Regions from separate parts of the Homo sapiens genome. Here regions 2 and 3 are each linked to region 1. The links are contacts of gene promoters, found by promoter capture Hi-C in human tissues and cell types (Jung and others, 2019). All regions are on one chromosome and are shown on one strand. The core of a region is centred on a gene start or on the middle of the fragment in contact, and the rest is flanking DNA. Distances in the headings are between cores, read along the strand shown. Region 1 holds the start of HAS3 (hyaluronan synthase 3). Region 2 has its middle 20 kb from the start of CDH3. Region 3 overlaps CDH1 (cadherin 1).

The links. Contacts are between HindIII fragments. The study calls those that stand out against the background at their distance.
Region 2: a fragment that was not itself captured here is called in contact with the fragment with the promoter of HAS3 in region 1 in 2 of the 25 tissues and cell types used here (dorsolateral prefrontal cortex and lymphoblastoid cells).
Region 3: a contact is called between a fragment that was not itself captured here and the fragment with the promoter of HAS3 in region 1, in 2 of the 25 tissues and cell types used here (dorsolateral prefrontal cortex and mesenchymal stem cells).

Annotation. Positions count from the first base shown.
Region 1 is chr16:69,103,935-69,107,223 of GRCh38, reverse strand. HAS3 (hyaluronan synthase 3) reads right to left here and starts at 1,571. Exons shown (of 4, transcript NM_001199280.2): 1 at 1,437-1,571. RefSeq lists a silencer at 945-1,224 and an enhancer at 1,358-1,906. The HindIII fragment of the contact is 9,378 bases long and covers 1-3,289 here.
Region 2 is chr16:68,623,748-68,627,036 of GRCh38, reverse strand. No RefSeq gene overlaps it. Among named protein-coding and RNA genes, the nearest start is that of CDH3, 20 kb to the left of the region's middle. The HindIII fragment of the contact is 4,710 bases long and covers 1-3,289 here.
Region 3 is chr16:68,795,464-68,798,752 of GRCh38, reverse strand. The region is part of intron 2 of CDH1 (cadherin 1); the gene reads right to left. Among named protein-coding and RNA genes, the nearest start is that of TANGO6, 46 kb to the left of the region's middle. RefSeq lists enhancers at 2,547-3,047, 3,048-3,289. The HindIII fragment of the contact is 4,503 bases long and covers 1-3,289 here.

The DNA of each region.
Region 1 (3,289 bases), core at 322-2,821:
ACGTGCAATCAGGCGCTGGTGCAGGCTGTGGTCGAGGTTCTCCTGCCCAGACCTGGGGCGGGGGGCTGTGTCACCCCAAGCCGGCAGAGGCTGTGGGGTGATCCTACAGCCTGGACCGCCGCCTCCTCATGCCCTTCGCTCATCCACGGGAGCCCAGCCCAGGCAAACTAACGCGCACTCGGCTTTCAAGGGCACAAGGTTGGGGGCGCTCTCAAGTCCGGCTCCCAGGACTACGGAAGGAGAACCCCCAGTCAAGGACGCACGCTTCTCCATCAAGCCTCCGAAACTTTGAGGGGCTGCTGGTGTGCAGCGTCTCTCCCGCTGACAGGTGCGCCCCGCGGCAGGGCCACACGCAGCGGCATGGAAACTTGTGCGCCCAACGGGGCTCCTCCTCTTGTGCCCGGCCGCCCTCCGGGCCCCTCCAGGCCGGCCAGGGGAGGGGAGCCCACTCCCCCGGACACGTGCTGCCGCGGCCCGGCTAACCCGCAGGAACGTGGGCGCCTGGTACCTTGGTGCCCGGACAGGTGCAAACCCCCGGGAGGTCGTAGAAGGTGCGGGGGAGGGGTACCCCAGCCAGCCTGGAGCCCCGCACCGGCGTCCGCCTCCTAATTCATTCACAAAACAGGAGCCGCCGGGGAGGAGGGAGGCGAGGCTGGAAGAGGAGAGGATGCAGGAAGAAAGGGAGGAGGGGTCAGTGGGGAGGGGGCTGCAGGAACGGCCGCCGGGAAGCCCGGGGCTGCCGCCGCCCCCAACCCGCCTCCCCGCGCCGGACGCGGCGCCCGCAGGGCTGGGAGCTGGCCGGGTGCGGGGGGCTCGGCGAGAGGCACCCCTGCCACCCGGCGCGCCCCGGCCTCGGCGCAGCCCCGCGCGGCCCTCCCCTCCTGGGTGCCGGCCGGCCCGCGCTCACCGTGCCGCCGGCTGCCGCGCTCCGGAGCTCAGCAGGCCCGCGGCGGCTCCATGCCCCTCCTCCCGCTCCGCTCCGCGCCGCCGCGCGCTCCGACTGCCGCCTGCCCAGCCGAGCCGCCCTTAAGTACCCGGCGCGTGCCCGCCAGGAGAGGCGCCTCCCCCGGCCCTGGGGCCGGGAAAGTTGACCAGAGTGGGAGGGCCCCCGCGGGCGCACCCCCGACCCCGCGCGGTCCCAGGGAGCGCCACAAGCCAGCGCTCGGCGGGGACGCCTAGTCCCGGGTGGACGCGGCTCCGGCTCGCAAGACTCGCAGCCCCTGCGCCCTCTCCGAAGCTGGGTCCCCCGAGTGGGGCCGAAGGCCACGCGGCTCTGCAATCGCCCTGGGACCAGCTGCCAAGGCAAGACGGTCATTGGGCTCAACCTAGAACCTGAAGCGTCGTTAACTTTCCAGATACCACGCAGGGACTTCCAAAATTGTTACTCTCCCTCCCCGCCCCCACGCCCCGCTCTCTAACCCGCAAAACCTACTCACCCTGCAAGGAAGGCGAGCTGAGAGCACTCTTCCCCGACTTCTGCACGCGAAGGGGCAGTTCGCTGTCTAGGGGGCTCCCGAAAGCCAAGGCAGCAAAACCTTCCTGCTGGCAGGAAAGAGGCGCTGAAGAGAATTGTCAAATGTAAAAAGGCTGGTCAAAGAAGGTGTTAACAATTGTGACAGCTTAGCTTTGAATTCCGCAGTGGGGCGCTGATGACTTTAAGGCGGTTTGCAAAAGCTGCAAACGGTTTTGTAGGAACCTTGGAGGTTCCGGTGTCTTAAAGCCAAAACAATTCCTCCTCTTCTTTTTCACACCTTTATTTCCGACATCCATGACCTCCTAAATTCCCAACTGACCTTATCGACAGTAGTTTTCAGGTCCCTAAAAGATAGTGCTAGACTCGAGTAAAGTGAGATGAAGTGAGTTGGGGTGCACTGGGGTGGGGTGAGATCGAGGAGGGGGGAGAGTTGTTAGCAGAGACAAGAAGTTTAGAACCAGCTGAAGGCGATGAGTTTTTACATCTCAGGAAAACTTGAAGAGAAATTATAATTAATAACTAGTTTTTAAAAAATGAGTGGCCGGGCGCCGTGGCTCAAGCCTGTAATCTCAGCACTTTCGGCGTTACGGGCACCATGCCCGTAATCCCAGCTACTCGGGAGGCTGAGGCAGGAGAATCGCTTGAACCCCGCAGGTGGAGGTTGCAGTGAGCTGAAATCGCACCACTGCACTCCAGCTTGGGCAGCAGAGCGAGACTCCGTCTCCAAAAAAAAAAAAAAAAAAAAAAAAAAAAAAAACCAAAAAACAGAGTTTACCTGTTTTCCAAATACACCTGATATAATTTCTATCACTTCTTCCCAAGCTGCAACAAATTTATAGGCACCTGAGCTGCAGTCTATAAACTTCTCCTCTCGCAAGTTTTAGGGGCTCAGGGACTTGCCTGCCCACCATTGCTCAGTCTGGGCCACAGACCTCACACCTCAGTCCCCGCAGGCAAGCAAAGACCCCAGGCACACCTACTCCACACAATCCCATCTTACATTATTGGCCAGGCACAGTGGCTCACACCTGTAGTCCCAGCACTTTGGGAGGCTGAAGATGGAGGATCGCTTGAGGCCAGGAGTTCAAGACCAGCCTGGGCAACAAAGCGAGACTTCCCCCGTCTCTACAAAAATTAAAATTAAAAAATTAGCCAGGGCCGGGTGCAGGCTCACGCCTGTAATCCCAACACTCTGGGAGGCCGAGGTGGGCGGATCACGAGGTCAGAAGTTAGAGACCAGCCTGGCTAATATGGTGAAACCCTATCTCTACTAAAAAATACAAAAATTAGCCAGGCATGGTGGCACGTGCCTGTAGTCCCAGCCACTGGGAAGGTTGAGGCAGAAGAATCGCTTAAACCCAGGAGACAGAGGTTGCAGTGGGCCAAGATTATGCCACTGTACTCCAGCCTGGGCGACAGAGTGAGACTCCATCTCAAAAAATAAAAATAAAAAAAAAAAGAAAAAGAAAAGAAAAGAAAAAAAAAAAAAACATTAGCCAGGCATGGTGGAGTGTGCCTGTAGTCCCAGCTACTAGGGAGGCTGAGGCAGGAGAATTGCTTGAGCCCAGGAGGTCAAGGCAACAGTGAGCTATGATCGAACCACTACACTCCAGCCTGGGTAACAGAACAAGACGCTGTCTCAAAAACAAATTCCTGGACTCCAGCAGCCCTTCCGCCTCAGCCTCCCTAGGAGCTAGTCCTATAGGCATGCTATCCAGCCCAGCTGCCAATGTGTTTTGAACTTCAGATGGCCTGAGGGGCCCTACCAGAGCCATTCCTACTTACACAAAGATGGAGAAGAAGCCTTAGGTTGGT
Region 2 (3,289 bases), core at 504-3,003, 480 kb after region 1:
TGATGAAAATGTCCTAAAATTGATTATGGTAATGGTTGTGTAAGTCTGTGAATATACAAAAAACACTGAGTTGTACACTTTAAATTGGGGAATTGTGTGGCAGATGAATTACATCTCAACGCTGTTATTTTTTAAAAGCTTTAAAAAGCAGCGTGCAACGCAATTTCCCTAAGGGAGTTATTACTGCAGACATCCCATGTGAACATGTGTCACAGCTGACACTGAGATCAATCAGACCACAAATGACTCCAGCCAATCGCACTTGGCAATGCTTGGTCATGCACTGGTCACACGGAGCTAACGGTTCTTAATAACACTGATCATGGGAGTTTACAGGCCATTTCCTAGATGCCATGTTTGGGCTGACAAAGCCAGTTTCCCAGAGCATGTATAGTGATGGTTCATAGCAAAGGCTCCGCAATGAGACAAATTCGACTTGGAACCTGGGCTCTGTCTTGTGACCACTGGCAAGTTAGCCTCTCAGTCGCAGTTTTCTCATGCATAGAATAGAGCTAATGCCTACCCTATAGGGTGATTAATGTCTACCCTATAGGGGATTAAATAAAATGCTATTTGCAGAACAATGATCACAGTGCCTAGAACTGGGGAAAAGATCAGTACATAGTAACTGGCATCATTAATAGTAAGGCATATAAAAAACTGAGCACAGTGTCTGGCCCTTAGGGAGTGGTCAAAACACAAAATGATAAAGTTACACTTTTCTTTTTTTTTTTTTTTTGAGATGGAGTCTCGCTCTGTCACCCAGGCTGGAGTGCAGTGGCAGGATCTCGGCTCACTGCAAGCTCCGCCTCCCGGGTTCAGGCCATTCTCCTGCCTCAGCCTCCTGAGTAGCTGGGACTACAGGCGCCTGCAACCACGCCCGGCTAATTTTTTGTATTTTTAGTAGAGACAGGGTTTCACTGTGTTAGCCAGGACGGGCTCGATCTCCTGACCTCGTGATCTGCCCGCTTCCCGAAGTGCTGGGATTACAGGCGTGAGCCACGGCGCCTAGCCAAAGTTACACTTTTCACAAAAAAAGTATCTATGAGACAGAATAAACTTTCCAGACAAGGGCAGAGAATTTGAATTCTGTTGCTAAAAAACAAAAGTAGGTAACTTTGGATGTTGCTACTTGCTCACAACCTGGCTTTCACCTGATTCTACAGCCTAAAGCACCAGGTTCTCTCCTGACGCCTCTTGACCAATCCCATCACATCACTAATAAGCAAACCAAGTTTCCAGAAGCTTCTAGAAAATTCCAACTAAGAAACTGGAGTTTTTGACAAGGAACCAAGACAGGAAATGTCATTGTCCCTCCAAGGCATGGACTGAGACAGGGAGCTAGAAAAGAAACTCACAATAGAAAATAAATGCAATTGGCCGAGCACGGTAGCTCACGACTGTAATCTCAGCACTTTGGGAGGCTGAGGCGAGCGGATCACGAGGTCAGCAGTTTGAGACCAGCCTGGCCAACGTGGTGAAACCCCGTCTCTACTAAAAATACAAAAATTAGCCAGGCATAGTGGAGGGCGCCTGTAATCCCAGCTACTCAGGAGGCTGAGGCAGGAGAATTGCTTAAACCTGGGAGGCGGAGGTTGCAGTGAGCCAAGACTGCACCATTGCAGCCCAGCCTGGGTGACACGGCAAGACTCTGTCTCAAAAAACAAAACAAAAAAAAAAGAAAGAAAATAAATGCAATTGATTATCCCAGGAAGGCAAGGGCATTTCAACAGCAGAAAATCTTTTCATGTAATGCACCATATTCCCTGGTTAACAGAGAAAAATATGATCATCTCAGTATCTGCAGGAAAAATTCATAGTTCGGGCTAGAGGCAAGGTGGCTCATGCCAGTAATCTCAGAACGTTGGGAGACAAAAGTGGGCGGATTGCTTGAGCCCAGGAGTTGAGACCAGTCTGGGCAACATGGTGAAATATCGCCTCTACAAAAAAATACGAAAATTAGCTGAGTGTGGTGGTGTGTGCCTGTTGTCTCAGCCACTCAGGAGGCTGAAGCTGCAGGATGGCTTGAGCCCAGGAGGTCGAGGTTGCAGTGAGTCATGATAGTACCACTATACTCTAGCCTGGGCAACAGAGCAAGAAAAGAGTCTCCAAAAAAAAATAAAAGAACATGCAGAAAGGACATAAACTACCTCTTAGAGTGTTTGCCTCTTGGAAGGCAATAAGATTTTTATTTTATTTCTGAATAGAAATTGAGAAGGAGGGCTGGGCACGGTGGCTCACGCCTGTAATCTCAGCACTTTGGGAGGCTGAGGCGGGTGAATCACCTGAGGTCAGGAGTTCGAGACCAGTCTAACTAACATGGTGAAACCCCATCTCTACTAAAAATAAAAAATTAGCCAGGCGCAGTGGCATGTGCCTATAATCCCAGCTACTTGGGAGACTGAGGCAGGAGAATCGCTTGAACCTCGGAGGTAGAGGTTGCAGTGAGCCGAGATCGTACCATTGCACACCAGCCTGGGCAACAGAGCAAGACTCTAGACTCTGTCTCAAACAAACAAACAAACAAAAGAAAGAAAGAAAAGAAATTGAGAAGGAGGTCAGGTGCAGTGGCTCGCACCTGTAATCCCTTCATATAACAATGATTTTACAATATTCTCTGTAGAGAGAGCAGAAAAATAATTTAGTCTTTTTTCTAGAATGGTTGAACAAAAACTATTGATTAGTATTAGCAGTTTAGAAAAGTTTAACATTATTGATAAGTAAATTTTTATTATTTTATATGCATTTCAAAATTTATATATATATATATATATTTTTTTTTTTTTGAGACAGAGTCTCGCTCTGTTGCCCAGGCTGGAGTGCAGTGGCGTGATCTCAGCTCACTGCAACCTCTGCCTCCCGGGTTCAAGTGATTCTCCTGCCTCAGCCTCCTGAGTAGCTGGGATTACAGGTGCGTGCCACCATGCCTGGCTAATTTTTTTGTATTTTTAGTAGAGTTGGGGTTTCACCATGTTGGTCAGGCTGGTCTTGAACTCCTGACCTTGTGATCTCCCCGCCTCAGCCTCCCAAAGTAAATTTTTTTTTTACAGTAAAAAATGAGAGGTCAGGAGTGGTGGCTCACACCTGTAATTCCAGCACTTTGGGAGGCCAAGGTGGGAGGATTGCTTGAGCCCAGGAGTTCTAAACCAGTCTAGGCAACATGATGAGACCCATTCTCTACAAAAAATACCAAAAAAATTACCAGGCATGATACCGTGCCTGGCTGAATTCCTGTGTTGAATTCCTGTGTTTAAATCTCTTGCTGGTGGGGCACGTTGAGCCACTGTGC
Region 3 (3,289 bases), core at 541-3,040, 310 kb after region 1:
GTCATCTTTAGGGGCTTGTCATGTAAACAGGGAATGAAGGCTGCACTGAATTCCTTTCTCCAGCCTTCCCAAATTTAGACAGTGAAAGTTGAGACAAGCATGATTGGACTTGCCAAGGGTGGCGGCCTGAAAAAATGAAAATGGTTTTGCAAATAACTTGATCCAAGGCACTTAACCTGCTTTGGGGCACCTCATCTTAATGGTGGTTAAGCCCTACCCTTTGAGAAGTGACAGTATGACGAGGAGCCCCAACCTGAATTCCAGGTGCTCATAAGACTCATTATCTCCCCATGCAACCTGATCCCCTGGGCTGATTATAGGAAATTGTAGGAAAGATTGAAAGGTTCTTCAGCTCCAGAAAGGCTCTGGGAAGCTCACTGTCACGCTGGCAAGGGCTGGGTTGTCTCTGAGCCCAGCAAGTGGGAGGAAAGAAGAATGGCAAAATGTTGAAACTGGAGGATCAGAATACGGGGACTGGGTATATTTCAACATGCCCATAAAAAAAGCTAACAAAAATAAAGCTAACAAGGGTCTAAGTGTTCTTTAACCCAGTATGCCCACCTTTCATAAACTTATTTGGTGACTTGGTGTAAAAACCAAATCCCAACAAAAGAAGCTAAGACCCCACTCCCCACTACTGGCCATCTCCATGTGGGAAAGTCTTTTTTTTTTTTGAGACAGAGTGTCACTCTGTCACCCAGGCTGGAGTGCAATGGTGCAATCTGGGCTCACTGCAACCTCTGCCTCCCAGATTCAAGCAATTCTCCTGCTTCAGCCTCCCGAGTAGCGGGGATTACAGGTGCACACCACCACGCCCAGCTAATTTTTGTATTTTTAGTAGAGACAAGGTTTCACCATGTTGGCCAGGCTGGTCTCGAACTCCTGACCTCAAGTGATCTGCCCGCCTCTGCCTCCCAAACTGCTGGGATTATAGGTGTGAGCCACTGTGCCCAGCTGGGAAAGTCTTTTCATTACAATATCATCACCATCATCAAAAACTGCAGCCTCAACTAAGCTTCAATTAGCTTTTATGAACTATTTTATTCAGATTTTATTTAATTTTATTTGTGTGCTTTTTGAGACAGGTCTCTGTCACCTAGGGTGGAATGCAGTGGTGCAAACACTGCTCACTGCAGCCTTGGCTTTCGGGGCTCAAGCAATCCTCCTGCTTCAGCCTCCTGAGTAGCTGGGGCTACAGGTACATGCCACCATGCCTGGCTAATTTTATTTATTGTAGAGATGGGGTCTGACTACGTTGCCCAGGCTGCTCACAAACTCCTGGGCTCAAGCCATCTTCCCGCTTTGGCCTCCCAAAGTGCTGGGATTACAGAAGTGAATGACTGAGCCCAGCCTCATTTTAATTTTTTGAGAAAGGGTTTTACTCTGTCACCCAGGCTAAAGTGCAGTGGCACAAACGCTAGCTCACCGCAGCCTCAGCTTCCTGGGCTCAAACCATCCTCCCACCTCATCCTCCAGAGTAGCTGAGACTACAGGTGTACTCCACCGCAGCAAATTTTTAATTATTGTTTGTAGGGACAGGGTCTCGCTATGATGCCAAGCCTGGTCATGAACTTCTGACCTCAGGTGATCCACCTGCCTCAGCCTCCCAAAGTTCTGGGATTACAGGCATGAGCCATCATGCTTGGCCTATTTTATTAGTATTTTAAACATGTGTAGAATATTAATGTGCCATGCTCTATTTTAAGCATGTGCTGCCACACCCAGCTAATTTTTGTATTTTTTGTATTTCAGCAAAAAATGTAATTTTATGTTTACAGGACTAGATGGGGTTTTGCCACGTTGCCCAGGCTGGTCTTGAACTCCTGGCCTCAAGCGATCCACCAACCTCAGCCTCCCAAAGTGCTGGGATTACAGATACAAGTATTGTGCCTGGCCAGGAGGCAGTTTGAAAACAACAACAACATATTTTCCTTATATATCCTTGTATTACTTGGCCTGTTACAATTAGAATGAATTCTTTTTTTTTTCATGACAAAAACTAGTAAGAATGACTTTTAAAAAGTGTTTTTAATACTCTGTCATCCCTGCATGCTGCTATTAAACCTACGGTGCCCCACTTTCTAGCCTACTGGGCAAAAGTAGCTTTCAAGAGAGGACCCCAAGAGAGATGACTGATGTTCAAATACAAATGAAACCCAAGTTCATGAAAAGCTTTTGGTCCTGGGGCAGGCTCTGAGCATTCAGCAACATTCCTTGCTTGAAATTGCCATCATGCCACACGGAACAGTCCCACTTTGACGATCCCGTTTCTTCTCCCACGCCCGCCTGGTCCCATAACTGGAATGTGAGTGGGTAGAAACAAGACAGTCTCAAAAGCTTCTATATTATTTTCAGACGATGTTGGGATTTAAGGACAGGGCCAGCTATGGAAGGCAGCAAACCATAGTTGAGTTGTTTGGTAACCAGTGGGATAACCTAGTATCTTAGACGTAACTAGTTGGAAGCAGTGTTTTGCCCACCCTGCATACAAAGGGGCACATTATGGATTGCCTCCCTCTCATCAGAACACATTTCCCACAGCGAACACCAAAGAATACTGCATTTAGCAATTCTTTTTTTTTTGTTTTTAAAGACAGAGTCTCGCACTGTCACCCGGGCTGGAGTGCCATGGCAGGATCTCAACTCACTGCAACCTCCACCTCCCGGGTTCAAGCCATTCTCCTGCCCCAGCCTCCCGAGTAGCTGGGATTACAGGTGCCTGCCACCACGCCCGGCTAATCTTTTGTATTTTTAGTAGAGACGGGGTTTCACTATGTTGGCCAGGATAACCTCGAACTCCTGACCTTGTGATCCGCCTGCCTTGGCCGCCCAAAGTGCTGGGATTACAGGCATAAGCCACCGCACCCGGCCTGCATTTAGCTTTATTCAAAGACCATTTGAACTTGAGAGCTCAGCCTCAGTTACACATAAAAACTGGAGGACAAGATCAGAGAACTGGCTGGGCATGGTGGCTCATGCCTGTAATCCCAGCACTTTGGGAGGCCGAGCCAGGTGGATCACCTGAGGTCAGGAGTTCAAGACCAGCCTGGTCAACATGGTGAAACCCCGTCTCTACTGAAAATACAAAAAATTAGCCAGGCATGGTGGCGGGCACCTGTAATCCCAGCTACTCAGAAGGCCAGGACAGGAGAATTGCTCGAACACAGGAGGCAGAGGTTGCAGTGAGCAGAGATTGCACCATTGCGCTCCAGTGTAGGTGACAGAGCAAAAAAGACTCCATCTCAAAAACAAACAAACAAACAAAAAAATCAGAGAACTAGCCAGGCAT